Linked DNA regions of Homo sapiens: all the other regions are linked to region 2. The links are contacts of gene promoters, found by promoter capture Hi-C in blood cells and fetal thymus (Javierre and others, 2016). All regions are on one chromosome and are shown on one strand. The core of a region is centred on a gene start or on the middle of the fragment in contact, and the rest is flanking DNA. Distances in the headings are between cores, read along the strand shown.

The links. Contacts are between HindIII fragments. The CHiCAGO score rates a contact against its expected background, and 5 or more counts as called.
Region 1: a fragment that was not itself captured here is called in contact with the fragment with the promoter of AKAP9 in region 2 in 1 of 17 cell types (monocytes); the score reaches 6.9 in monocytes.
Region 3: a contact is called between a fragment that was not itself captured here and the fragment with the promoter of AKAP9 in region 2, in 1 of 17 cell types (erythroblasts). The highest score is 5.1, in erythroblasts.

What each region holds. Positions count from the first base shown.
Region 1 is chr7:91,049,670-91,053,002 of GRCh38, forward strand. The region is part of intron 11 of CDK14 (cyclin dependent kinase 14); the gene reads left to right. Among named protein-coding and RNA genes, the nearest start is that of FZD1, 210 kb to the right of the region's middle. RefSeq lists an enhancer at 1,282-1,341. The HindIII fragment of the contact is 1,182 bases long and covers 1,119-2,300 here.
Region 2 is chr7:91,939,215-91,942,234 of GRCh38, forward strand. It overlaps AKAP9 (A-kinase anchoring protein 9), which reads left to right and starts at 1,648. Exons shown (of 50, transcript NM_005751.5): 1 at 1,648-1,933. The coding sequence starts at 1,886. LOC124901698 (a long non-coding RNA gene) reads right to left here and starts at 1,637. Exons shown (of 2, transcript XR_007060431.1): 1 at 1,450-1,637; 2 at 636-1,350. RefSeq lists enhancers at 1,189-1,750, 1,789-1,938 and a silencer at 1,479-1,588. The HindIII fragment of the contact is 23,233 bases long and covers 1-3,020 here.
Region 3 is chr7:92,464,335-92,467,629 of GRCh38, forward strand. It overlaps a transcript of GATAD1 not described here. Among named protein-coding and RNA genes, the nearest start is that of ERVW-1, 12 kb to the right of the region's middle. The HindIII fragment of the contact is 1,612 bases long and covers 623-2,234 here.

The DNA of each region.
Region 1 (3,333 bases), core at 460-2,959, 890 kb before region 2:
TGCTAACCTAATTTCCCAGTAGTTATTTTTTAAATAACTTATTTTTTAGTTAATGTCTATGAAATAAGTTAAATACACTTATTATTTCAGCAATATTTCCTGAGCACCACTTATATGTCTAGGGACTGGAGATGTTGCATTGAACAAAAAGCAAATGATCCTTACAGGGAGAGACATATAGTAAGTGAAATATATCATATATTGGGTGGTGATAAGTACTGTGGAGGAAAATAGAGCAAGAAACTGGTTCAGGAAGTTCTGAGAAAGGGGAGGGGGTGATTTACAGTTTAAATAGGGTAATCAAGGAAGGCCTCCCTGAAAAGAAGACATTTGACTGAAGAATATGAGAGACAGAGCCAAGAAGATATTTGAGGGAAGAACTCTTCAGGCAGAGACAAGAGCAAGTACCAATGCCCTGAATGGGGAGGAGTGGAGGGCTGATAATGAAGTCATAGACGACGTGGGGCCTTGAGGGATACCCTGAGTCCTTTACCATTGATCTGAGTGAGATAGAAAGCTCTAGAAGATTTTGAACAAGGCAGCACAGGAGCTGGTTTATGTTTTAGTAAGACCACCCCAGCTATTATACTGAGAATTGGGGGCCAGAGAAGAAGCAGGGGGACCCCTTAGGAGGCTATAACAGGAATCCAGGGGAGAGGCGATGAAATGTACTGTGAATAAAATGACCTCCCTTTTTCAATTCCTATGATTATCCCAGAACTCAACATGGTTTTCCCTTGGAAAAAAAAAATATATAACAAAAATGGAGAAACATTTTTAAAATAATTATTGAAATAGTGAAAGAACAATTAGTTAAAAACTGAACTTTATTCTTTACTATATAACCTGTATATCTTCTTCTGTGCTTACACAAAACTTAAGCTCAGCATATTCCCATAGCAACCAGGCAACTACAACAGGTCACAATGGTATTATATATTATAAAGTATGTGCATGTTACATACAATAAGGAGTCTGTGTAAGTCTCATTTGTGTTGCTATAAAGGAATTCATGAGACTAAGTAATTTACAAAGAAAAGAGATTCAGTTGGCTCCAGGATCTGCAGGCTGTACAAGAAGCATGACACCAGCATCTGCTTCTGGTGGGGGCCTCAAGAAGCTTCCAATCAGGAGAAGGTGAAGGGGGAGCATGCATGTCACATGGTAAAAGAGGGAGCGAAAGAGAAGAGAGGACTTCCCTAAAGTTAGTGTCAGAGGTGAAAGTAGATCCCATGTCTCCGTGGGTCTTAGTTGAGTGTGCTTTTGCTTTTACTTTTGTTTTCCAGCCTCCATTATGAAATAGCATTCTACTGAATGTGCATCACAATTTCTCATTGTCCTTCTAAAGAACAGTTTACTGGCAATTAGACTATTTTAAAAAGCAGAAAAGTAGAGAAGATCTGATCTCTGGGAAAATATGTACAGTAATACACACAAATATTAAAATATTACACCAATACAAGGCTCTTTTTAACAACCAGATCTCTCACCTGAATTAATAGAGCAAGAACTCACTCATTATCCTGGAGAAGACACTGAGTTATTCATGAGGGATCTGCCCCTATGACCCAAACACTTCCCACCAGGCCTCACCTCCAACATTGGGGATCACATTTCAACATGAGATTTGGAAGGGACAGACATCCAAACTATATCAGAGTCTAACCTTGGAAGCTGCTATTTTTCCATCATTTACTTCTATTTAAATTTCTCTTAAAAGAAATGGAAAATGGGCTTGTTTCTTTTTTGAACCTGATTACCTTCCTGTTTCTTTTCCCTTACCCTCAGGGTTCTGTGGTTAATGGTCTTTTAAAAGTAGGTCTCCTTGTGTCTCCCTCACTCTCTCATTCCAGAGTGTTTCCTTTTGTCACTGTGTTCAGGATACTTGCTGTGGGAAAGTCTTGAGGTGAGAGATTGTGCTGTGGTGTTCTCAGTATTTCAGTAATTCCATAACTTGGTGTGAGATTCATCACAGGCAAACCCATGCTCTAACACAAAGTGAGAGTCCACTGTAAAAATAAATCATATTCCTTTTCATGGGTTCATAGTTATTCACTAACAGGAGGCTTTTGCATAAGGCTCTCTGCTATAAATTCCTCCTGGGATAATGAGAGGCTCCCCTATGTGAATCCCAGGATCACTTTCTTCTACCAGGTTTACCCCCTGCTACATCCCATCGACAGGTGCTGTGGTTCATATGTCTCTGCTAAAGTGACAGTGCAATTTTTTTGTTGCTGTTATAAGACAGACTTATCATTTTTAAAAGATGCATCTTGCATGCATGTTTGAGGGGTTGTTTAAGCTTCATAGAATTGTGGTAACCCCAGATCAGGGCGGAATACACGTAGACATTTGAGGTTCTCCAGACCAGTAGAATCAGAGTAATGGATGAAGAGTTCTGTCAAGGCTTTGTAATTTCTAGCTGTCAAAGAGTACCCTGGGGCTGCATGAGCTGAGAGTGCGAGTGGTGTTTGATTGTGCCTTAAGCAAAGTGAATGTTTGAGCTAGAGGGAACCCCAGGGAGCATCTAGTCTGGCTTTCTTCTTGTGAAGTTAGGAACCTGAGGTCCAGAGATGTTAAAGAACTTCCCTAACATTAGTGTCAGAGGTGGAAGTAGATTCCAGGTCTCCCTGGGTCTCACTTCCTGAGTGTGTTTGTGTTTTTGTTTTCCAGCTTTCATTATGAAATAGCATTCTACTGAATGTGTATTACAATTTCTCATTGCCCTGCTAAAGAACAGTTTACTGACAATTAGACTATTTTAAAAAGCAGAGAAGTAGGGAGGATCTGATCTCTGTATTTGGTAAAATATCTACACAAAACCACCAATAACACTTCGTATAAAATGGTTTAGCACTGAAATAATGTGTAGATTCCATGTATGATACTTTCATCTCTCAAATGCTTCCAACAAAAGGGAAAGGTACATTCAAAAACTATTTAATGGATTATTCAGATGCTCAAAAAGGAATACACTGTGAAGTTCAGTGAGGAAAAAAATGCTGCTAGACCAGAAGCAATTAAAAGTGATGAAATTTAGAATAAAATAATTATATTTTCCAAAATCAAGCAAGAGAATAGAGCATTTCTAAAGTGGTTATATTACTTCTAAGGAAAAGTTAGCCAATGGAAAAGACTATTTGATTCAGGAAACTTTGAAGAAAATGGACTGTCTCCCAACGAATGAAATAATATAAAGAATTTGCCATTGGAGGCAATTGGGGAATGGTGATATTTTAAACACACTCTGCTAAAAACTAATCCTACAGACACATTGACCTTAAAGGGAATGTTTACATACGGACTTAGCTGTATCAAGGCTTTGTAATGAGG
Region 2 (3,020 bases), core at 398-2,897:
CCTCCTAGGCAATCAGCATCTACACTCATAATCCCTCAATCCAGGCAGTATTTAAATCACTGCACTATTAGAACACTTAGTTCTAGTCCTTACTCTTAATTTGATGGGTGACTAAGTAAATCACTTATTGCCTCAATTCTTTCATCCCTATGATAAAATGTCTAATTTTACCTGGTTCCTAATTCAGGTTGAGATAACAGGACAATATGCACTTGGCTGTTAGAAGTTGGCAGAATGTATGCATTACGGAGCTTAAGAAAAAAATCTTTTTTAAAGCTAAGATTTCTAAATGAGGGCTATTTAAAACTCATCTTCAGTTTGTGGTAGACTTAAGGTCTTTATTATCTCCTTTTTTGTTTTTTAACCTCAATTTTTCACTTAACACCACTTCTACGCTTGAACTCATTTTAGCCTATTTTTTGTTCACAACTGCTAGTTTTTCAGTCCAACCTAGCTCAAAGCAACGGAGAAACATGATAAATCTGAGTAATCAACCAGAGACATTAAAATGTGTAGTTCACTCCAGGAATGGATGTGAGCATTGGAGGGCAGGGAGACGAACACAAAGGACTGAGGGAGCACATGTCGGGGAAACAAGGAAAGATAGTAATGTTAAATTTATAAACACTGCTCAATTCAATCCAAAAAGCGTTTATTGAGTGCAGAGCTCTGTGCTGGTCATTTTAGTAAAGCCAAGATGAGCAAGACTTATGATGAGTCTCTGTCATCAAGGAGCTGGGAGTATGAGCTGAACTAAGACGCACACAAATTATTAAAATATGGTGCAGGGTACTTAAAGGAAGTCCAAGGAGAAATAAAGCTGACATTATTCAGGACGTTTTAATATGTCAGGGCAGTCACATATATTAACAACCCTTCCAAAAATTCCAGGTAGGCTCAGGGAGGATAGGTAACTTGTCATTAACGCTAGAAAGTTAGTGTAGTCTGGCATTGTCCCTAACCGAGGTTCTAAAGCTCAGGCTCCTTTCAGAACACTACTGTTAAAGGGAAGCCCCAAAGAGTCGGGGGAGGGGACTAAGTTTTGACTGGATGTGTCTCGGTTGCCGTGGAGGGAACAAGAGGTCAGAAAAGCCATTTGGAGGCAGCGTGTGCGATGGGACTATAAGGATGAACCGGAGATTGAGTGGGAACCAGTGGAGGGAAGAGGGAGGGACTTTTCAGGCTAAGGAAGTAATAAGAGCAATTAGCTGCTCTCATAATTCTTGAGTCAAGCAGTTAATGTAGGTAGAAAACCTGGCGTCCGCCCCCCCACCACCCCCCACCGGAACTTTTCCGTTGGAGCTTGTAGGTGTTCGCCAATTTCACCATTAGGTGTGTTAGTTTTGTAACCTGAAGGAAAAAAAAAACTCATGTTTTAATAGCAGTGGATTCCTCGGACGGAGGGTGGGGGTCAGGCCAGGAGCCTCTGGCACACTCCGTCTCTCCTACCCCTCAGCTCGGCCGCCACCTGTGAGCCGTTGATGTGCGGGAAGGGCGCTCTCTACGGCGGGATCCTCGCTGGTAGGAGGCAGGTCCCAGGCCTGGCAAGGGTTGACCCCGGAGGGCTGGGCCGGGGCGGCACCCCAGGAGCACCTGCCCACGAGGCGGCTGCGCGGACAGACGTTCCAGCCCCTCCCGCCTCGCCGTGTGTTTACGTGGAGACGAAGATGGCGGCGGCGGCGGCGGTGACGGCGCTTCCCGTGCGGCTGAGGACGATCCGCCAGTGAGCGCGGAGACTGCTTCCACTTCGGGCGGGGGAGCGCCGGACCGAATCGGCTCTCTAGGCCGTGGAGCTTGCCGTCCCACCTCCGTCCAAATCGACCTTTCCTTTCTATCCCCAACCACCCCTCAACCCCTGTTTTCCCCTGCCTTCCTTGCAGAGGCCATGGAGGACGAGGAGAGACAGAAGAAGCTGGAGGCCGGCAAAGCCAAGGTAGGAGAGCCCGAGGCAACCGGGCCTGCGGTGGGAGGCGGTGGCTAGCACGGGGTGGGAGGGGGCCTGGGAAGCGGAGTTCGCCGCAGCCCCAGTGCACTGCCCGAGAGGGAGGTGCTGCAGGGTCTTAGGGTCTGCATCTCTCCTCGCCCTCCTCCTTTCCCCTTTTTCCAGTTGGGGGACAAAGCCTTGTGCTAGCTGATAATACTTCCGCGAGGATTGAATATTGTGGCTCCTTTCTCGTGAATGTCCAAATAAAACTCCCCTTTTACTGTATTGCTGTAAACTAGTGTTTAGTTGCTTCTAAACCTCCGATCTTTCATTTTTTTAAGGAGTTTTCTGGGTGGTGCAGGCATTGTGCTTTCCAGGGTGGGGATTTAGGGCTTTTCTTTATTGGGTTGGGGATTTGTGCGCTGATCATCAGCTTGTCTTCCTTAGGTAGCACGCTGGCACTCTTGGGTGTGTGTGATTGGCCTGTGACAGCTGTCTCAGCAGTGGCTTGTGTGTGCCACAAGTGCCAGCTGTGAACTTGGCTTTAGGGGCGTTTTTAGAAGCGTGTCTTTGTATGTTTGTACTTGAAGGTCTTTGTCATGGCATGCGCTTTTGTGTCCTATGGAATGTTAATGCAGTCTGTGAATGGAACTTCTGAGGACCGAAAGGTTCCATATGCCAACACCTATAGAATTCCTGCTTTAAATAATTTAGTTGTTATATATCTCTCTGGCGAATCCTGGTTGTGTGTGTGTGTGTGTGTGTGTGTGTGTGAACGGTTATGGAAAAGCCTGTAAAGCAAACAATACAATACACAATTATACACAGGCATCGTTCATTGGGCTTCATGAGAAATTTAACATATACAGAATATAAGCTGCGTAGCATATTTCTTTTAAAAATTACATATTTGAGCATATATTTTGTCTGGGCTCAAAAGCCCCCTTCCTCCCTTCAATGAAGTCTTCTTTTATGGATTATATTATTTTTAGAGATAATTGTTAGCAGTCATACTTGGACAAAAATTGTATTACAGGTAACTGTTTTTCCTCTCTTCCTTTCTCTTCTCCTCACATAAACAAAGGAAACCAGGTTA
Region 3 (3,295 bases), core at 179-2,678, 520 kb after region 2:
GAGACGTGCAATGCAGTAACAAAACTCTGCACCTAGTTGATTTCTGTCTCCTAATTTAATGCTTTTATGGGACAAACTGTTAGGCAGGTGGGCAAGATGGACAGCCATATTTTTGTGGGTTTCTGGCCTGTGGGCCAGCCTCAGTGCTCACTCTGAGGTCATGTCCAAACTTAGAACACATTCAGGCCTACCACAGTCAAGGCTCCCTTTCTCAACTCTAGTCCTCTGCACAAATATCCGAAGCCTAGAAATAATAATCATCTGTCCTTGTGTCTTGCATTATGAAAGCCTAGGAAAGGGCCTTGGGAATTAAGAAGAATGGAAAAACTGGTCTAACTGCTGCATGCTTCAGCTTGCAGGGGAATCACTGAAATGGGGACAGGCCATAAAAGGACAACCAGAAGAGTGGCTTCAGCAAAGGCATCGTTTTTCAGAGCAAGCTAGAGAATCCTGCCAGCGTCCTCAGGCAGGGCCCCTGGGCACAGAGGTTAGGCAAGGGAGTGTCCCAGCATGTTGATGCCCTGAGCATCAGAATAATGCCATAGAGGAGCTTCCAAAGAGTTCATTTCAGGTTTTGTAAGCCGAACATTTCTAGGCAAATAAAATTTGATTTTGTGAATAAAGCTTGTTTCTTCAACTCCAGTGCAGATTCTCATAGATTGATAGTGGCTTGTGATCCAGATAAAGAAAACAATTTTTCAAAGATTCATATTCTTTGTAGATGTACGGATTTAGAGACCATCTAATCTAACTCCCTCATTCTACAGATAGGAAAAATGAGGCCTAAAGAAGTTAAGAAAATACCATGGAAATGTCACTGCTGAACTGCCATACGTAGGATCCGAAAGAAATTGGGTAAATGCTACTGTGAGAAATACAGTACTAGGTCCAAAGAATCTAATACAAATTAAAAATCTAAATGTTATTTCTAAAGCATCCCTGCACATGGCTGAACTTACATAGTTTCATTTTCTTTCTTTTCTGTTGAAGAAGAGGCAATTGGCTGGGTGCAGTGGCTCATGCCTGTAATCCTGGCACTTTGAGAGGCCGAGGCGGGTGGATCACCTGAGGTCAGGAGTTTGAGACCAGCCTGGCCAACATGGTGAAACCCCATCTCTACTAAAAATACAAAAATTAGCTGGCTGTGGTGGCCGCTGCCTGTAATCCCAGCTACTCCAGAGGCTGAGGCAGGAGAATTACTTGAATCTGGGAGGTGGAGGTTGCAGTGAGCCAAGATCACGCCATTGCACTCTAGCCTGGATGACAAGAGGGAAACTCCATCTCAAAAAAAAAAAGAAAAAAAGCAATCACTAACCTGTGTTGTTTATTAAACATGACAGACTGGCATGAAGTAATTACCAAACTGTAAACAAAAAAGCTACAATCTGCCAGGCATGGTGGCTCATGCCTGTAATCCCCCACCTTGGGAGGCCAGGTTGGGGGATCACCTGAGGCCTGGAGTTCAAGACTAGCCTGGTCAACATGGTGAAACCTCGTCTCTACTAAAAATACAAAAATTAGCCCGGCGTGGTGGCACATCCCTGTAATCCCAGTTACTCAGGAGGCTGAGGCAGGAGAATCACTTGAACCTGGGCAGTGGGGAGGTTGCAGTGAGCCAAGATCGCACCGTTGTACTCCAGTCTGGGCCGACAGAGTGAGACTCGGTCTCAAAAAAAAGAAAAAAGAAAAGCTACAACCTTAATCTCAACTTCTCATAACATCATCTCTACTTCTGATTAGAAGAGTGGAAGTGGGGAGGTTTATTACAAAAAGACTGTTATACCTTACACACTTCTCCCCATGAATAGTGAAGGTGTGAGTGAAAAAGACAGCAATTTTATTTTTTTTTTGAAACAGGTTCTTGCACTGTCACCCGGGCTGGAGTGCACTGTTGTGATCACTGCTCACTGCAGCCTCCACCTCCCAGGCTCAAGTGATCCTCCTACCTCAGCCTCCTGAGTAGCTGGGACCACAGTTGTGCACTACCATGCCCAGCTATTTTTTTTTAAGAGATGGGGTCTCACTATATTGCTTAGGCTAGTTCTCAAACTCCTGGCCTCAAGCAGTCCTCCGACCTTGGCCTCCCAAAGGGTTGTGATTACAGGCATAAGCCACCACACCCAGCCAGCAGTTTTAGAATAAAGGGTGAAGGTGCTGTTGGGGAAATATAATTTAAAAAACAAAATCTTCTCTCAACCCAGAAATCCTCTCCATGAAGGCAGTAGAGAAAGATAAGCTTTATTATTGAATAAAAATTAAATGAGAATGTGATGCACATCACAGGCACTTTGCTAAGAGATCACAAAGACAGAAGGAAATTTCACCATTTTGTACAGCCAAGCAGGTACAGCCCATTACATGTATGTTTTCGAGATAAATAGTCCTCAACTAAGAGAACTTGACAGCACCACTGGTCACACAGTTCATTCTAACTTTACCTGATAATTGATGTGACCACTTGTGTTATCTAAGATATCAACTTTTCGGGGGTGGGGGAGTGTGGAAACAGGAGTTACTTTTATAGCTTGGTGCAAGGTACTCATTAAGATTAGGCTGTTACCCTCCCACAGAAACTGGAAGATAGGTATGCTATCTGGTAATGTTTACATTTCCCAGATCCTTGAGAAAGACATTCCTAGGTCATAAAGCTGACAAAAGGCTGATTCAGTTTTTAAATATATATATCTGTATATGTATTTCAGGCTGGGCATGATGGCTCATGCTTTTAATCCCAGCACTTTGGGAGGCCAAGGCAGGTGGATCACCTGAGGTCAGGAGTTCGAAACCAGCCTGGCCAACATGATGAAACCCATTTCTACTAAAAATACAAAAAAATTAGCCAGGCATGGTGACACATGCCTGTAATCCTAGCTACCAGGGAGGTTGAGGCAGGAGAATCACTTGAACCCGGAGGCGGAGGTTGAGCCGAGATTGCACCATTGCACTCCAGCCTGGAAACAAGAACAAAACTCCGTCTCAAAATAAAAAAAAAATTATATACATATATATATTTCAAAGAGACTGAGAAAGCACATACAAGTTTTCTCAAGTAATAACCTGACATGGAGGGGAGGAAAATTTCTTGCCTCATTTTCAACAGGTGGAATTAAACTTATTAAATTCATATTTATCTTTACAGTGCCCATCCTAAATTTGGAAGAGGAAGGATGTGGGCCAACTTTTGGCTTAGGCCCTCATGTCAGGGCTTCTCTTAGTACATATGGTACCTTTCTGAGATTTTCAAACTGGCAGCCACTTTGGACTGATCAAGTCGCAAAGCTGAATTAATTGCTTA